2 separate regions of the Homo sapiens genome follow, and region 1 is linked to region 2. The links are contacts of gene promoters, found by promoter capture Hi-C in blood cells and fetal thymus (Javierre and others, 2016). All regions are on one chromosome and are shown on one strand. Each heading gives the region's core, a stretch centred on a gene start or on the middle of the fragment in contact. The rest is flanking DNA. Distances are from core to core; before and after follow the strand shown. Region 1 holds the start of TMEM89 (transmembrane protein 89). Region 2 holds the start of CAMP (cathelicidin antimicrobial peptide).

The links. Contacts are between HindIII fragments. The CHiCAGO score rates a contact against its expected background, and 5 or more counts as called.
Region 1: a contact is called between the fragment with the promoter of TMEM89 here and the fragment with the promoter of CAMP in region 2, in 1 of 17 cell types (endothelial precursors). The highest score is 6.5, in endothelial precursors.

Annotation. Positions count from the first base shown.
Region 1 is chr3:48,620,397-48,624,109 of GRCh38, forward strand. It overlaps TMEM89 (transmembrane protein 89), which reads right to left and starts at 1,373. Exons shown (of 2, transcript NM_001008269.3): 1 at 1,067-1,373; 2 at 363-631. The coding sequence starts at 1,360. The coding sequence ends at 446. The HindIII fragment of the contact is 13,468 bases long and covers 1-3,713 here.
Region 2 is chr3:48,222,140-48,225,666 of GRCh38, forward strand. It overlaps CAMP (cathelicidin antimicrobial peptide), which reads left to right and starts at 1,356. Exons shown (of 4, transcript NM_004345.5): 1 at 1,356-1,573; 2 at 2,215-2,322; 3 at 2,464-2,535; 4 at 3,154-3,346. The coding sequence starts at 1,373. The coding sequence ends at 3,285. RefSeq lists enhancers at 701-820, 841-970, 981-1,030 and a silencer at 1,040-1,334. The HindIII fragment of the contact is 1,963 bases long and covers 859-2,821 here.

The DNA.
Region 1 (3,713 bases), core at 123-2,622, 400 kb after region 2:
TCAAGCCATCCTCCCACCTCAGCTTCCTGAGTAGTTGGTACTACAGGCACACACCACTATGTGTGTGCTCAGCTAATTTTTGTTTGTTTGTTTGTATTTTTCGTAGGGATGGGGTTGCCATGTTGCCCAGGCTGGTCTCGAACTCTTGAGCTCAAATGATCCTCCCACCTCGGCCTCTCAAAGCGCTGGGATTACGGGTGTGAGCCACCACGCCCAGCCCAGAGGAGCAGTTGTGTCTCCAGGAGGGATCCTTAGGGAGGAAAGGTCAGTTGGTGGGGGCAATGGAGCAGTGTGAGCCAGCCTATGCCCCACCTGCCCGCCCGTCCTGGACACCAAGTCAGCTGACTCTAAAAGCTGAAAAGGGACACACGGTCCAGACAGGCCTGGAAAGAGCAGACCTGGCCCAGGACCTCAGGCTGTCAGGCAAAGAGAGGCACATGTTCGGTCACCCACTCTGGGTGGAAGTCCCCTTTATTTGGATTTGCCGCTGGGTGGCTAGATGACGTAGGTGGCCTTCGATGTGGACCAGGAGGGCATCCAGCATGTGCAGGACCCCACGGAGCAGGGTGTGGTCTGAGATTGGGGCCCGCCGTTTCCAGGGTCCGCAGGGCTCAGTGGTCACCTGCGGATGCTGAGACCAGGACCAAGAGGCAGGAGTGAGAATGGTGGGCAGAGAGGGAGATGTGACAAGGGGCAGTGATGGAGCTGGGGAGCAGGGAGTAGGGTGTGGGGCAGTGCCCAGATGGGATGGGAGGGAGACTCAGGGTGATAGAGGATCACCGAGGGTCTGTTGTGGGCTACAGTGGTCATGGGGCCCACAGGGGCTGGATGAGAGCAGGGGTACTAAAGGGGAGAGTTGGGGGCAGGGTGCTGGCTGTGGGTGGTGGACATGGGTTCCACGAAGGTGTGTGGACACAGGGACAATGGGCTGTGAGCTGGGGGTGGGGGTGTGGGAGGTCCACAGGCCAGTGTGGACCCATGGGGCAGGGTTGGGTGGAAGACGGGCTCACTGAGCGTACGTATATTGAGGCAGGGGCTGTGGGGGAGAAAGAAGAGCTGTGCTCACCTCACCCTTGGTGGCCTGTGAGCGCCGCCGCCCCTGCAGTATCTTGCGGCAGATCATCAGCATCGTGGTGGTGATCATGACCGCAGCCACGGGGTAGATGCGGCTTGCTCCAGGGCCCAGCCAGTAGCCAGGACAGCTCAGGCCACCCCTACAGCCCTCCACACTCTTTGGCTGACACCCCCAGGGCTGCAAGTCCAGCCCCACCTGGTACCAGAGGGGTCTCGACCAGGCGTGGGTGGAGGCAGACGTCACCAGCAGGAGCAGCAAAGGCAGCGAGGCCAGCACATGCAGCATGGCCGTCGCTAGTGCCAGGGCCGGAACCCGGGCACCTGGCAACGGGCAAACGCCCCTCCCCCGGGAAGAGGCCTGGCTCTAAGGCAGCAGGTTCCAGCCAGGCCCATGGCCTTTCATGAGCAGCCTGGCCAGAAACTGGCTGTGGTCAGGGGGCTGGAGTCCAGGGCTTGAGGACAACGGCAGACCTGGGTTCTGGGTCCTGCTGTCCCAGCGGGCCTAGCTGGCCCCAAACTGAGGGAGCACCTCCTTTTGAAGCTGGGCCCTAGGCTGGGTGTAGTGGCACACACCTGGAATCCCAGCACTTTGGGAGGTTGAGGCAGGTGGATGGCTTGAGCCCAGAAGTTTGAGACCAGCCTGGGCATCACGGCAAAACCCCATCTCCATAAAAAATACAAATAATTAGCTGGGTATAGTGGCACATGCCTGTTGTCCCAGCTACCCAGGAGGCTGAAGTGGGAGGATCACCTAAGCCTGGGAGGTCAAGACTGCAATGAGCTGTGATTGCACCACTGCACTCCAGCCTGGGCAACAGAGTGAGATTTTTTCTCAAAAAAGATAAAAAAAGAAACTAAGTCCCAAACAGTTAAAGAAACCAGTAACTAACAGAAATTCTTTTTTTTTTTTTGAGACAGAGTCTTGCTCTGTCGCCCAGGCTGGAGTGCAGTGGCACGATCTCCGCTCACCGCAAGCTCTGCCTCCCGGGTTCACGCCATTCTCCTGCCTCAGCCTCCTGAGTAGCTGGGACTACAGGCGCCCGCCACCTCGCCCGGCTAATTTTTTGTATTTTTAGTAGAGACGGGGTTTCACCGTGTTAGCCAGGATGGTCTCAATCTTCTGACCTCGTGATCCACCTGCCTCGGCCTCCCAAAGTGCTGGGATTACAGGCGTGAGCCACCGCACCCGACCTTACAAACTTTTTTTTTTTTTTTAACTAGGCTGGGCACCATGGCTCAGGCCTGTAATCCCAGCACTTTGGGAGGCCAAGGCAGATGGATCACCCGAGGTCGGGGGCTCGAGACCAGCCTGACCAACATGGAGACCTGCCTCTACTAAAATAGCCAGGCGTGGTGGTTCATGCCTGTAATCCCAGCTACTCAGCAGGCCGAGGCAGGGGAATCACTTGAACCTGGAAGGTGGAGGTTGTGGTGAGCCGAGATCGCGCCATTGCATTCCAGCCTGGGCAACAACAGCAAAACTCCATCTCAAAAAAAAGAAAAAGGCCGGCTGTGGTGGCTCACACTTGTAATCCCAGCACTTCAGGAAGCTGAGGTGGGTGGATCACGACATCAGGAAATTGAGACCATCCTGGCTAACATGGTGAAACCCCGTCTCTACTAAAAATACAAAAAAAAAAAAAAATTAGCTGGGCGTGCTGGCACACCCCTGTAGTCCCAGCTACTTGGGAAGCTGAGGCAGGAGAATCACTTAAACCCGGGAGGCAGAGTTTGCAGTGAGTTGAGATCATGTCACTGCACTCTGGCCTGGGCGACAGAGCGAGACTCCATCTCAAAATACAAACAAACAAAAACTAGCTGGGGCTGGGTGCGGTGGCTCACCCCTGTAATCCCAACACTTTGGGAGGCCAAGGCAGGAGGATCACTTGAGGTCAGGAGTTCAAAACCAGCCTGGCCAATATGGTGAAACTTCGTCTCTACAAAAATACAAAAATTAGCTGGACATGATGGTGGGTGCCTGTAATCCCAGCTATTCAGGAGGCTGAGGTGGGAGAATCACTTGGACCCAGGAGGTGGAGGTTGCAGTGAGCCAAGATCGTACCATTGCACTCCAGCCTGGGCGACAGAGCGAGACTCCGTCTTGGGTGGGGGGAGGTGGGGGAACTAGCTGGGTGTGGTGGCATGTACCTGTAGTCCCAGCTACTTAGGAGGCTGAGGCAGGAAGATCGCTTGAGCCCAGGAGGTCAATGCTGTAGTGAGTGGTGATCACAGCACTGCACTCCAGCCCGGGGAACAGAGCAAGAGCCGATTTAAAAAGAAAAAAAAAAAAAATCCACACGGCCCCTAAAACCTTTTGCTTTCCACCAGGGGCATCACCTCTCTAGGCTGACCAAACTCGCAGGTCCCCCACACCCAACCGCAGCCCCACAGTCCACATCGCAGTTGGGTGAGTGCTCAAAGATGTGGGATCAAAATCCACAGGCAGCTCCCCCGCTGTCAGAACAAAGCCCAAAGTCTCCCCCTGGACTGTGAGGTCCCCCCACCCTCTCACCTCAGCTCATGCTGCCCCTGCCTCCCACAGGCCTGCCTCAATACCCCCACTGCCAGCACCACAGCTCCCCAGGCCTAGAAAGTCACCTTCTTTCTTATGGCTGGAATTTCAGTTCCAGGGTCACCTG
Region 2 (3,527 bases), core at 106-2,605:
GGAGGCCCAGTGGGGACAACCGGGACGTTCATGGGAGTCTCGAACTCAGAGATACAGACTGGGTGGTGTCTGCCTATTATAACTGGTGTCCTGGGAGAGGGCGTCCCCAGGGAAACCCGAGGCCAGGGAAGAGAAGCAGCCCAGGAGGTGACCCCACACGCTCTCAATATTAAGAAGACAGCCCTTAGGGGAGACCAAGAAGGAGCCACCAGGGAGGCAGGAGGGACAGCAGGAGAGTGGCATCAGGGGAGACCGGGGCAGCAAGAAGGAAGGCTCACCAGTGCCTGTGCAGACAAAGACCAGGCTTGAGGGTGGCCATGGACCAAGGGTGGGTTGGCCAGCCTTCAGTGGCCTTCAGCATGAAGAAGAGTGAAAAGATGGGGTCAAGAAGCGTAGACAACCTTTCCTAAGACTTGGCTTGGGAGAAGCCATGGTGAAAGGCCATGTCTGGAGGGGCTTGGGAACATTTTGAGACTGAAAAAAACAGTGAAGAAGGATGCAGAAGGGGATAGATGGAGCAGAGCCTTCGTCTGGCTGACGGCTGGGTCCAGAGAGCATGTGGTATGGCCTTGAACTGAAAGGGCAACTTGTCCCTTGCAAGAGTGAGTCTCTAGGTTGGGGGTGGCTACTGTCTTCATTTACCAGTTCTTTTTTTTTTTTTTCATACTGAGTCTCACTCTGTTACCCAGGCTGGAGTGCAGTGGCATGATCTCAGCTAACTGCAACTTCTGCTTCCCGGGTTCAATGGGTTCAAGTGATTCTCATGCCTCAGCTTGTAGCTGGGACTACAGGTGTGAGCCATCATGCGTGGCTAATTTTCATATTTTTAGTAGAGATGGGGTTTCACCATGTTGGCCAAGCTTGTCTCGAACTCCTTATCTCAGGTGATCCGCCCACCTTGGCCTCCCAAAGTGCTGGGATTATAGGCGTGAGCCACCGTGCCCTGCCTCATTCATCAATTCTTAATCGATGCCTACAGGGTGCCAGGCAATGCCTAGAGCTGGAGATTTAGCAGTCCATCATACTGACTCCTGAGGAGTAGAAGGATGTAGAATAGGCACCTGGCTCTCTTCCTCTCTGGAGGGATTTAACGCTCTTGAGCACCCCTGGCTATGACAATCTCCGGTCAGGTCTGGGAGGTTGTCAGAGATGAAGAAACCACTTCCTCATCTTGCACACAAGGAAGGCCTCACTCACTGCCCAGCAAGTCCTGTGAAGCAATAGCCAGGGGCTAAAGCAAACCCCAGCCCACACCCTGGCAGGCAGCCAGGGATGGGTGGATCAGGAAGGCTCCTGGTTGGGCTTTTGCATCAGGCTCAGGCTGGGCATAAAGGAGGCTCCTGTGGGCTAGAGGGAGGCAGACATGGGGACCATGAAGACCCAAAGGGATGGCCACTCCCTGGGGCGGTGGTCACTGGTGCTCCTGCTGCTGGGCCTGGTGATGCCTCTGGCCATCATTGCCCAGGTCCTCAGCTACAAGGAAGCTGTGCTTCGTGCTATAGATGGCATCAACCAGCGGTCCTCGGATGCTAACCTCTACCGCCTCCTGGACCTGGACCCCAGGCCCACGATGGTGAGCTTTGGGGGACATTCTGCTCTGCTCTGGCTGGGCTTGGCCACGTGTTGTTCCTTCTGCTCCTGCTGCACTGCCTGCCAGGAGGGCATCTCCCCCTTTAAATGTGGTCCCGTGTTTTCCAGGGAACCTTCTAGAGCTCGTGTCTCCTCCCAGCTCGAGAGCTTCCTGCCTTATAATTCCTGCTGTGGCAGAGATACCCTCACCCCGACCCCACGCAGGTTTTGGGACTTCTGCGAGCTCCAGGCACTAGAATGGGGTCATTGGCTCTGGGCAGTGACCTCCTCTGCTTTAAGTCTCTTCTGTACCACGTTACCCCACATAGGGAAGAACTCTATCCAGACTTTAGGTTCCAGTGGGCATGTCTTGTCCCCCAGGAAGCCCCCTGACTTCCCTTGCCCCCACCCCAGAGTGGGAGGGGCTCCTTGTTAGAGCTCATCTGAGGTCTGCTCCTACTCACTGTTCACCTAGGAGGGTAGGAATGGCTCAGTCCTCCTCCCCTCAATGCCCCAGTGCCAAGCCCAGCACCCAGTGCCCGTCGCACATCAGGTACTGTGGAAAGCCTGCCCTCTTGGTGGGGAGGTCATGGACACAAATCAGAAAATACAAGAATGGGCCTCCCCATTTCCTCCTCTGACTAGGATGGGGACCCAGACACGCCAAAGCCTGTGAGCTTCACAGTGAAGGAGACAGTGTGCCCCAGGACGACACAGCAGTCACCAGAGGATTGTGACTTCAAGAAGGACGGGGTGAGGCTGGGGGCTGGGGGTGTTGGTGGGTGCCTCCCAAGGAGCTGAACAGGGGGCACCTGGGGAATATTTCCCACTGGGATGTGGCTGGGAGGTCATGGCAAATGGTTTCAAGTTTGACCTTGAGCTTCTCCTTTCCAGCTGGTGAAGCGGTGTATGGGGACAGTGACCCTCAACCAGGCCAGGGGCTCCTTTGACATCAGTTGTGATAAGGTGAGTGGGCTGTTCTGGGATGCAGGGGCTGATGGGGGCATAGAGTGTGGACCATCCAATGGGTCAATTAACTACTCCCCCAACCCAGGACAGAGAAAGCCCCTCCTACCCAGGGCTCTTCCCCAAACCTGAGTTCCATCTCCAGGGCCGGCTCTGGAATCCCTTAGAGCGGTAGATCTCCAAGTGTAGCCCTTCCTGGGGACTCGTTAGATATGCAAATTCTCAGGCCCTACTCAGACCTACTCAGACAGACTCTGGGTAGGGCCCAGAAATTCGTATTTTGATAAGCTTTCCAGGAGATTCCGGCTTCTGTAAAGTTTGAGAGCCACTGTCTAAGAGTACTCAGCTCTCAGCCCTGTGTTCCCATCTCAGTGTTGCTGGGCTGGGCTGTGTGACCCTGCAGAGCCCCTCACTATCTCCGGGACTCTGTTTTCTCATCTTTTTATTGGGTGTAGGGATTCAATCACATGCTTCAAAGGTCACAGCCAGAGGTTGAACTGGGGCCCCAAAGCTCCTGCGGGGGCCCACGAAGAGGGGCGTCTAGGTGGGGAGGGGTCTTGGATTGACCCTGGGTACATCCCCGACAAGGAACCTGTTTCTTCCTGTACACAACCCCAGGATAACAAGAGATTTGCCCTGCTGGGTGATTTCTTCCGGAAATCTAAAGAGAAGATTGGCAAAGAGTTTAAAAGAATTGTCCAGAGAATCAAGGATTTTTTGCGGAATCTTGTACCCAGGACAGAGTCCTAGTGTGTGCCCTACCCTGGCTCAGGCTTCTGGGCTCTGAGAAATAAACTATGAGAGCAATTTCCTCAGGCTTCAGTCTCACTTGTTTTGCCTCCTCTCTCTCACCACAACTGAGCCCTTAGCTCAGGGAGTCCACGTGTGAGTGTGAGTGTGTGTGAGTGTGACACAGAGGTGGCGAGGGCAGTGTTCCATCCAGGAGGACACAGGGTAAGGCAGTAGGGCCAAGAGATCCAAGATGGCATTCC